2 separate regions of the Homo sapiens genome follow, and region 2 is linked to region 1. Evidence: promoter capture Hi-C in 16 types of primary human blood cells and fetal thymus (Javierre and others, 2016). All regions are on one chromosome and are shown on one strand. The core of a region is centred on a gene start or on the middle of the fragment in contact, and the rest is flanking DNA. Distances in the headings are between cores, read along the strand shown. Region 1 holds the start of CEP43 (centrosomal protein 43). Region 2 has its middle 94 kb from the start of RPS6KA2.

Region 1 (4,360 bases), core at 887-3,386:
AGTCTGTGAGACAGTACAGAATGACAACTGTGGATAAGTCTCAGTCAGGTGTACAGGAAAAAGATCATGCTAAAGAAACCAAGGAGTGGTCAAAACCAGGTTGTGAAGGAAAAAAACCACAGCGGTATTAAAAGCAGAATGTGAGTAAAGGAAAACAGTTTACTCCTAATAGTTATTTAAACATGTTTTCAAGCTCAAAAGAAAAGCCATCAGAAAAGGAAGGGGTCAAAGATACAGTAAATAATTAAAGACTTGAAAGTATACACAAGACAGAGTGATTATTCTTGGACAGGACAGAGCCTCTTCTTCTAAAGCAGTAAGGAAAGAGGTACAGATAAACATAGACACAGGTAAGCATTTTCACAGGTGAGCAATAGATTGAGGGACAGGAGAGGAGGACATAAAGTTAGGATCTAATGGCTTCTACCTTCCCTGTGGAGGAAGCAACAAGACCATGTGTTCAGAGAGAAGGAAGCAGGGGTGACATAGAAGGCTACTGCACAGCTAGGGTGAAGAAGAGAGCTGCTGGGCCTGCTCAGGACCTAACCAGGTTGGTACCTGCCAATTTGCAACATCAGCAATCCACAGGATTGACTGACTCTTCTCCAAGAGCACATATGTGCAAAGTGGGAAGAGTTAGTTTGCTGGGTTAAATGACCACTGAGATTTCTTCCAGACCACGTATGACCGTTAAGGCAAGGTAATTAGGGGTCCAGACCCATAGGGTCCAGAGCAAAATGCTGCCAAGAGAAGACTGATGCCTGCACAGACATGGAAAGGGCAAAGAACTGAAGATTTTGATGAAATTAGAGATTAGGTATACAGGTCTAAAGAAGTGAGAGGACAGTAGACTGATTTGTCATACAGCAAGAGTTTAAGGCTTTGATGATGGTTCTATTCTTGTTGACAAATTCCAGAATATTTACTCAGGATGGTTGGTGGGACTCCGAAAAAGTTAAATTACCCACTTAAATATAGAGTAGTGGCTGCACTTTTAAAATAATCGCTGTCTTTTTCATTGTCAAAATAATTGAGTGGTCAGATAATTTTGGGAAAAGTTGCATACTATATACCCCGTTTCATAGGGATTAATAACATATTAGCTTACTAAAGGATCTGAGTGAACCTGCACTTAACACATTGACAATGGCACCATTTCTTCAAGAAACTCCTATGACCATTTGTTTCAGATTAAGCATTAGTATCAGAGTTACTGTGGTACCTTAAGATTACCCCCAAATTCAAAAGCTACACGAAAAAAGAATAATTTTGGCTCTCTCTCAATAGTAATGTAATCCTTAACAGTTCAAAATTATCCCTAGCTATATGTTACTATAAACTATTTTTAAGACGGTTTTTAATGAATAAGAAATTAAGTATTAACGAATACAGCCATGTTAAAATCTGGAAACTTCATACCTCTACTTTTTCTTGCTCCTCTAGTGCTAAAAACACAGCTGCTCGGAGTTCAGCCTTAAAAAAAAGTTAAGAAACAGGAAATTATAATTTCAAGACAATTTTCACAACAAGCTCACATTTATCCAGCAACAAACACGAGCAAGCCAACGAGCTGGGAGGGCAGGTGCAAAGGTCAGAAACGCCTTCCGAAACGTTCTCAGTCACACAAGCTCTCCGACCCCCAGGCTTCGGCTGGACGCGCTGCTTTCCCGCCGCGGATCATGCCCGAGCCTGAGGAAGAGACGCTGGGGCCGCACTCCAGGGCCCAGCTGCGGGCCGCCCGTGTGGCCCCCAAGCCCCGCGGTCCCGCCCCCACGGAATGAGGCAGGGGATGGGCCAGGCACCCCCAGTCCGCGGTGCCCTCCGGGACCACACGAACGAACGAGCCGACCCCCTCTGTGGGGCGGGCAGGACGGAGGCCATGCCGGGGCGCGCCCCCAGTGCCCGCCGGCCCCGGTCCCTCGCCAGGGAGGCGGCCTCCTCGCCGCGACCGTTGTGACGCCCGCTGTCCACGCAAGCCCTGCGGATCCGCCAGGCCCGGCCCCAGCCTCCGGCCTCACCTTGATGCGGTTCAGGACCCCGCTGTTCTCCAGCGTCTGCACCAGCAGGTCCCGCAGCTCCGTGTCCTCCTCGGCCACCACTGCGGCCGCCGTCGCCGCCATCTTGCTTCTCCAAGACAACCGCCGAAGCCGCGCTAACGGCCAACGGCCGCAGCAGGGTACGCTCCGCGCGCGGGCTACGCGGCCGACGCAGCCAAAGCCCCGCCCCGACGCGCAGCGCGCTGGCCCTGCCCCCTGGCGTCGGGAGGCGGGGCATAGAGACCTCGGGGTTGACGCTGGACACCGAGCCTTGGGGAGCGCCGGACCACTGAGCGCCGAAACTTAGGGTCGGCGCTGGGGGCGGGGCTGCGGGGCGCGGGTGGGCACGCAAGGGGCGGGGCGTCGGCGGGGCCTCCAGCCGGCAACCCGTTGGCTGCCGTCGCCTGAGGCGCGAGCTTTGAAGCCGGCGAGCGGTGAGGAGGAGGCGCCCTCGCGTGTGGAGAGCGGACTCCGCCTGGACTCCACCGCCCACGGCCGCATCCCATCGCCGCACAAGATCGCCGGAGTCATATTATCGACGTAGTTAAAGCCCACTAGCCTAAAGCCGGGCGGACTGCGGTAAGGAGGCCCCGAGACCGAACCTGCAGCCCCTGCAGCCCCGGGGGGGCGCCGGGGAAGGGACTCCCGAGAGGTCGCGAGGGGCGGAAGGCCCTGCAGGTTGTCACCCGGAAATAACGTTCTGAGGCCCCCCAGCCAGGCGAACGCACCCTGCTCGGCCACGGCCTCCGAGGCTAACCGGAAAGGTGCCAGGCCGAGGTGCAGGGGCGGGATGGCCCCAGGAAGAGCCGAGGGCCGAGGAGGGCGTTGGGTGGGCTCCGCGCTGCCCGAACTGGGGCCGCAGTCTCCACTCCCTCCTGCCCCGCGGCCCTCCGCCGACAGCCAGGCGCCGGCGGGGAGTCCTGGACCCCTCCCGGGCCCTGGAAGCCCCGTCCCGCCGGAGCTGACGCGCCCTCTTGGTATCCATCCGGCCGCCTGGGCTGCCCCTCGCCCCTCGCCTTGGCAAAACCAGCCCCCGGACCGAGCCCTGCCTTGGAGAGTGTGGGTGCGCAAGGCCAGCCGAGCTGTCGGTTCCGGGGTTTCGGGGTGCGCCACTGTATGGCGGCGTAAGCCGAGAAGTGTCCGAGGCCGGGCTCCAGCAGTTGAGAGGCTGATTTGGCCACGGTGAAGGACGCGCCCGGAGGAAGGAAACGGGAATCCGAAACGGGCGGTGGCCGCGCCTTTCCCGAGGCCGGCGTCGAGGGCTTCAGCGCCTCAGGGTGGGCGGGAGGGGAAGGTCGTGCGACCCGCGTGGCCGGCGGAAAGGAGCAGCGGGAGCCGCGGCCGTAGGGAAGCCACGGGAAGACGGGCGGCTGCGCTGCGATGCGCGGCCCTCTCCCTGAAGCCCTCGGCTCAGGCGCCACAGGAAAGGCTCCTTCGGGCAGGCCTCAGCTTTCAGCTTAAGTTTTTTTCCTTTGGCCGAGTCAACTGCGGTGCCGAGTTGTATTTTCCTTTCAGAGGTGTGTCCGAGAACCATTCTTAGGAGACGCCTGCCGGCCGCTTTGGGATAGGGCCTGTCTGCCCATGCTGGCTTCCAAAGGCCTCTGTGTGTTCCTGTATGTGGGCGTGCACGTACCTGTCACATGTGTACGCGCAGACCACAGGATGTCCACACTGGCTTCCAAACACATCTCTGTGTTTCTGTCTGTGAGTGTGTACGCAGGTGTCAAATGTGTACGCACAGATCACAGGGTGTCCACACTGGCTTCCAAACACGTCTCTGGGTTCCTTTATGTGCGTGTGTATGCACTTGTCATGTGTACACACAGATCACAGGGCATCCACACTGGCTTCCAAACATGTCTCTGTGTTTCTGTCTGTGGGTATGTACACACATATCACATGTGGAAGAGGTAGGAAGAGGCTGGAACAGGTAAGGGTCATGAAGGTGCAGTGCACTATTGTACTGTTTGCGCTTTATATGTGTTTGGTTAGTTTTGCAAGAACATGCTGGTGAAGGAGAGAGAACCCCAAACAATTGATTAGCAGTGCTACTGAAACTCAGATATACACAGGAATGGCAAAGAAACATCTATGAAAAAAAGCAGATTCTGGAACTCCATCTCCCTGAGATTGTCACTCATGGGGTCTGCAGGAAGTTTCAGGAATCTGCATTTTCTTCTAATAAACGTGGTCCACAGGTTATAAGTTGAGATACAAATAGAATATATAAAGTAAAAAAGGAAAATTTGAAGTTTCCTGCCTAGCCCAACTCTTCTCATTGGTAGTGTCTGTTAAATTGGAAACATATCTCTTTCCAGACATAT
Region 2 (4,281 bases), core at 1,252-3,751, 280 kb after region 1:
CGGTTGTCATAGTCGCCAAGTGTAGGCACAGACAGACCTTGGAGGCGGTGGTGTCTCGCGAGTTGTGATGAGTCCTGTGGACTCGGAGAGGGAGCTGTGCAAAGAGTAACCGAAATTACTCCAGAAATGCAGAGAGGAATGGGCTGAAAATGCAGCGATTGAAGCTCATGGAAACTGAAGTGTCACTGGAGGTAAAGTCTAAGTAGTAGACTGAAGGACGAATCTCAAAAAGGGAGGCATTTGCTTCACGTGGAGAAGCACGTGTATCAAGCGTTTCAGAGAATGGGATTGGAGAATTCAACAGCTCCGCATCCACAACAAGCTCGGGCAGCCCCATCAGAAAGGTGTCCTGGCTCTTCTTTTTACAGAACTCCAGGGATAGGCTAGTGAGGGTCACGGACCCAAAGCCAGGTGGACATTCCACTCCCATTGCAGCCACCAGTCTTGGAAGTGCCACCCCAGCCTCTGTGGCTGTGGGCCCTGTGGGTTCCACGTGGCGTGGGCCACGGTGATTTTAGAACCAGGATGGACTGTCCTCACAACCGAAAGAGGGAAAATACAATAAGATAAGGGGAGCCCTCTGTGCCTCCCACCCCCTGCGGCTCCTCCATTTTTCCATCACTTTCACCTGCTTTGTTGAGTGTCTGACCCGCCTTACAAAACGCTTTTCCACTCTAAGCGTCTTCAGCTTCTCCTTCTGTGTGTGGGATCTCCAGTCTCCAAGCTCACGTTCCAGCATGGTTTTGAATTGGGGCAGAATCATGCAGGGGTTGGAACACAGGGCTGGAATTTAGGATGGATGATTGGACCTTCTGAGTCACACTCCACTTTCTTCACCAACTCCTAAAATGCAAACTGCTTTTACCTACTGAGTTATTCTGCTTATATTTCTAATTTTTCTGATTGTATTATATTCTGATTATATTTTGGTTCTGGTTATATTTTCCTACTGTATTTATATTTACTCCACTATGACATTCCAAATAAAGTGGACTATTTTAATGAGTCTATATGTGTGAAATGTGTACCTAAACATTTTGCACAAATGGTGGTATCCCTGCCGGCGAGGAAGCATGATAGGAATCAGGCTATTTTTGAGTCAGAGGATCTGGATCCGGGGCCGAGGCTGGCACCGGCTCCTCCTCTGAGCTGGCACCGGCTCCTCCTCTGAGCTGGCACCTCCTGGGGGAAGCAGCTGAGCTGATGAGCGAGGTTGCAAGGTGGGGCGGGAGCTTCTGTTAAAGTCCAGCTCTGCTAACTCTGCCGCCCGCCCACTGGGTGAAATGCTCCTGAAGCAGCTGTGCATCTTTCCCGTCCCCGAGACTCGGTCTTAGAAGGAGGGGCCCAGACGCAGACCCACTGCGATCACCCAGCACTGCCCGGAAAGCTGCCTAGCTTTACGAAGCTCTAGCATGTTCATCTGTGATTTTGTTCGTGAAACTAGAAAGTTTCTGTTAAGAAAGAGCCATTTGGAAAGCTTGATCTTCTAGAAGTTTTAAAATTCTTTTACTAGGCACCATCTGGTAAAATCTCTGGCAAGGGAGGGATGTGGCAATGGAGGGGGTTCAGCTGTGGCTGTGGCCACGTCAGGACCCAGTGTCTGGGCTAGGCCTGTGCTCCCGGGTCCTGGCCGTCAGATGAATTCTAAGTGTTGTCAGATGTAACTTTGCCTCTCCGGTATTTTCCCTCTCTTGTTGGAGGCTGCAGTCTTTTGAGGAAACCCATCCAAGCAGAGGAGACCCTCAGTCGCACCCCCGATGTCCCCCGCCTTTCCACCTTTCCTGTGTTATTTGTCCTTATCCATAGATGTTTTGATGTTAAACCATTTCATTAGACACACCAATCTGAGTGACAGATTTCAAGTAGGGATCCTCGTGAAATTGTTAAGAAATTAGTCACCTTGTAAAGTAACGATGGAGCACTTGCTTGTGTGAACTCAGGTGTTAAGAGGTACACAGACTAGTGGGGTCATTTCCATTTCCTGTGAAGTGTATGTAAGATGACTTTTAACTGTGAAATCACCCTTTAGTGTTAAACATGCAGCTTCTCAAAGCGTCTTCTCCTCAACTATCTGAGATTAAACACAGGAGCTCATCCCTGCTTCGTGGGAGGTTCTAGGCTCCCTGTGATTTAGTGGCAGCTAGGCAGGTACGGCCTTGCTGCTCTGCACAAATCAAACTCGCTGTGCCGGAGTTTCCTTCTGAGTAAAATAAGGGTGATTGGAATGGGCTACTCTGTCCATAATGAGGATATGATATGAATGTAAAATGCGAGGCACAAACTAGACATTTAATACACAGAGGTCATTTTTCTTATGACCAAGTATTTCCCTTTATTTAGAGTTAGAAATATGTTCAAACTATCTCAAAAAGTGAATTATTTAGTGCTAGTTTCTCATACAAGGACTTCCTAGATTCTTTGATAATGCCTTTCTTTCTCTTACACTTTTATTTTTGGGGAGAGATTTCTAGGTGGTGACTGACAGCTCCGTTTCTGCAGTCAGAGAGCCTTGGATTTTCATCTGGGTTCCTGGGTTCCTTTGGGGAAAAGAAGTGCATTGCAGATATTCTGTGTTCAATATCACCCATCCATTCTTTTATTTAGGTGACATATTTCTCCATTTATTATAATGATTAGAAACCTGTTCTTTGTAGTGAGCTTAGAAGATGAATAATGTAATTAATATGATGTTCCCAACTTATGAGTTTATAAATAGTGCATTCCAAGCACATAAGAGGAGCTCACTAAATGGTAGTTATTGTTGTATAGGGTTCACCAAAATTTGAATACTTATTACCTAAAATAAAATAGGAATAGGAATTTAATACAAAGATGCCCACTTTACAATGTTTTGTTGTTTAAAAGTGTGCCTTGAATTATTTCAATGAGGAATCCTTACATAAGTGAAAGTCTTATTAATAGTAATTATAAGAAATAGCACTCAGGGTATTTTGGGGCTTGAAGATTTCTGAATTGGGAATTTAAGCCAGCTAAAGGTTTAGAGTTAACTTCTTTCTCCCACATATCTCAAAGCTGCCACTCTTTCAGAAATTTGCCATGAAATTCCTTCTGGAAACTGTGGTTGAAAGTTGGCACATAGCATTTGCAAATTATAATATGAACATTCTTTATAAGATCTCCCAGATATACTCTAATCAGCATAACTAGGATGATGCTTGTTGGGATCAATGCAAGACTGATGATCATGCTCCCTTGCAGTTCCTGAGCCGAAAGTAGTCGGCTTTCAGTCTGAAACTAGTGAGATTGACTATCCCTCCGTTGATGAACGTTTTAATGATAAGTGAGTAGAGTTGGAGATGCATTCATTTAATCATTCCTTTGACATTTAATAATACATGATCAAACACTGAGTTAGTTTCAGAGTATCCATTGTGGGGTTTAAGAAGACCATGCAAAATAGATGTATTTTCATAGATACATCGTCACAGACATGTGTTGTTCAAAGGCAGTTAAAATGGCAGAGAAGGAGAGATTGCAGGTTACTTGTCTTTCCAAACAAGCTTAAATTCATTTAAAGCTCTCATTGATATCAAACCTTGCATACATTCTGGCTATGTGAGCTAGGGATGATTTTTACATATTTTAACAGTTGGAAAAAAGTCAAAAGAAGATTTCATGATGCATAAAAATTGTATGAAATTCAAATCTCAATGTCCATAAATAAGCATTTGTGGAAACCTATTCTTTGTAGTGAGCTTGGAAGATGAATAATGTAATTAACATTATGTTCCCAACCTGAGAGTTTATAAATAGTGCATTCCAAGCACATAAGAGGAGCTCACTAAATGGTAGCAATGTCCAATACGCATTCTAAGAACGCAGCCATGCACATTCATTTACGTGTTGTCTGTGGCAGTTTCCCCTGTAAAGACAGGGTTGAGCAGGCGTGACAGAGGTTGTGTGGCCCCAAAAATGTTTGCTACCTGTACATGTAGAGAAAAGTTTGCCGGCTGGTGCCAAGTATATTGGCCTTGTTGTCAAAGTCAATAACCTTTAAATGTTAATGTTTTTAATCCTTACTCATATATGCCTGTATACAGACACACAAATAAGAAAAAATCTAATGGTTAGACTTTTAACCTAATTAGCCTGTTCCACCCCTCTCTAGGTTCATGAAAAAGCAAAAGAGCTGTTCGGTGTGTTTAGAAATATTGGGATCTCACTTTTCATTAAGTTAAGGTCAGTTATTGAGACATAACCGATCTGAAAGTCCTGCCAAGTTTATGTCACCTCTGTGCACATGTGCGGGGCAGCTATCTT

What was found. Contacts are between HindIII fragments. The CHiCAGO score rates a contact against its expected background, and 5 or more counts as called.
Region 2: a contact is called between a fragment that was not itself captured here and the fragment with the promoter of CEP43 in region 1, in 2 of 17 cell types (erythroblasts and neutrophils). The highest score is 7.2, in erythroblasts.

What each region holds. Positions count from the first base shown.
Region 1 is chr6:166,997,173-167,001,532 of GRCh38, reverse strand. CEP43 (centrosomal protein 43) reads right to left here and starts at 2,136. Exons shown (of 13, transcript NM_007045.4): 1 at 2,019-2,136; 2 at 1,420-1,473. The coding sequence starts at 2,120. It overlaps MIR3939 (microRNA 3939), which reads left to right and starts at 3,621; the gene lies at 3,621-3,726. RefSeq lists silencers at 1,675-1,764, 1,775-1,934, 2,025-2,544, 2,835-3,064 and an enhancer at 3,605-3,654. The HindIII fragment of the contact is 9,184 bases long and covers 1-4,360 here.
Region 2 is chr6:166,718,710-166,722,990 of GRCh38, reverse strand. It overlaps a transcript of RPS6KA2 not described here. Among named protein-coding and RNA genes, the nearest start is that of RPS6KA2, 94 kb to the right of the region's middle. RefSeq lists a silencer at 4,156-4,281. The HindIII fragment of the contact is 2,044 bases long and covers 1,480-3,523 here.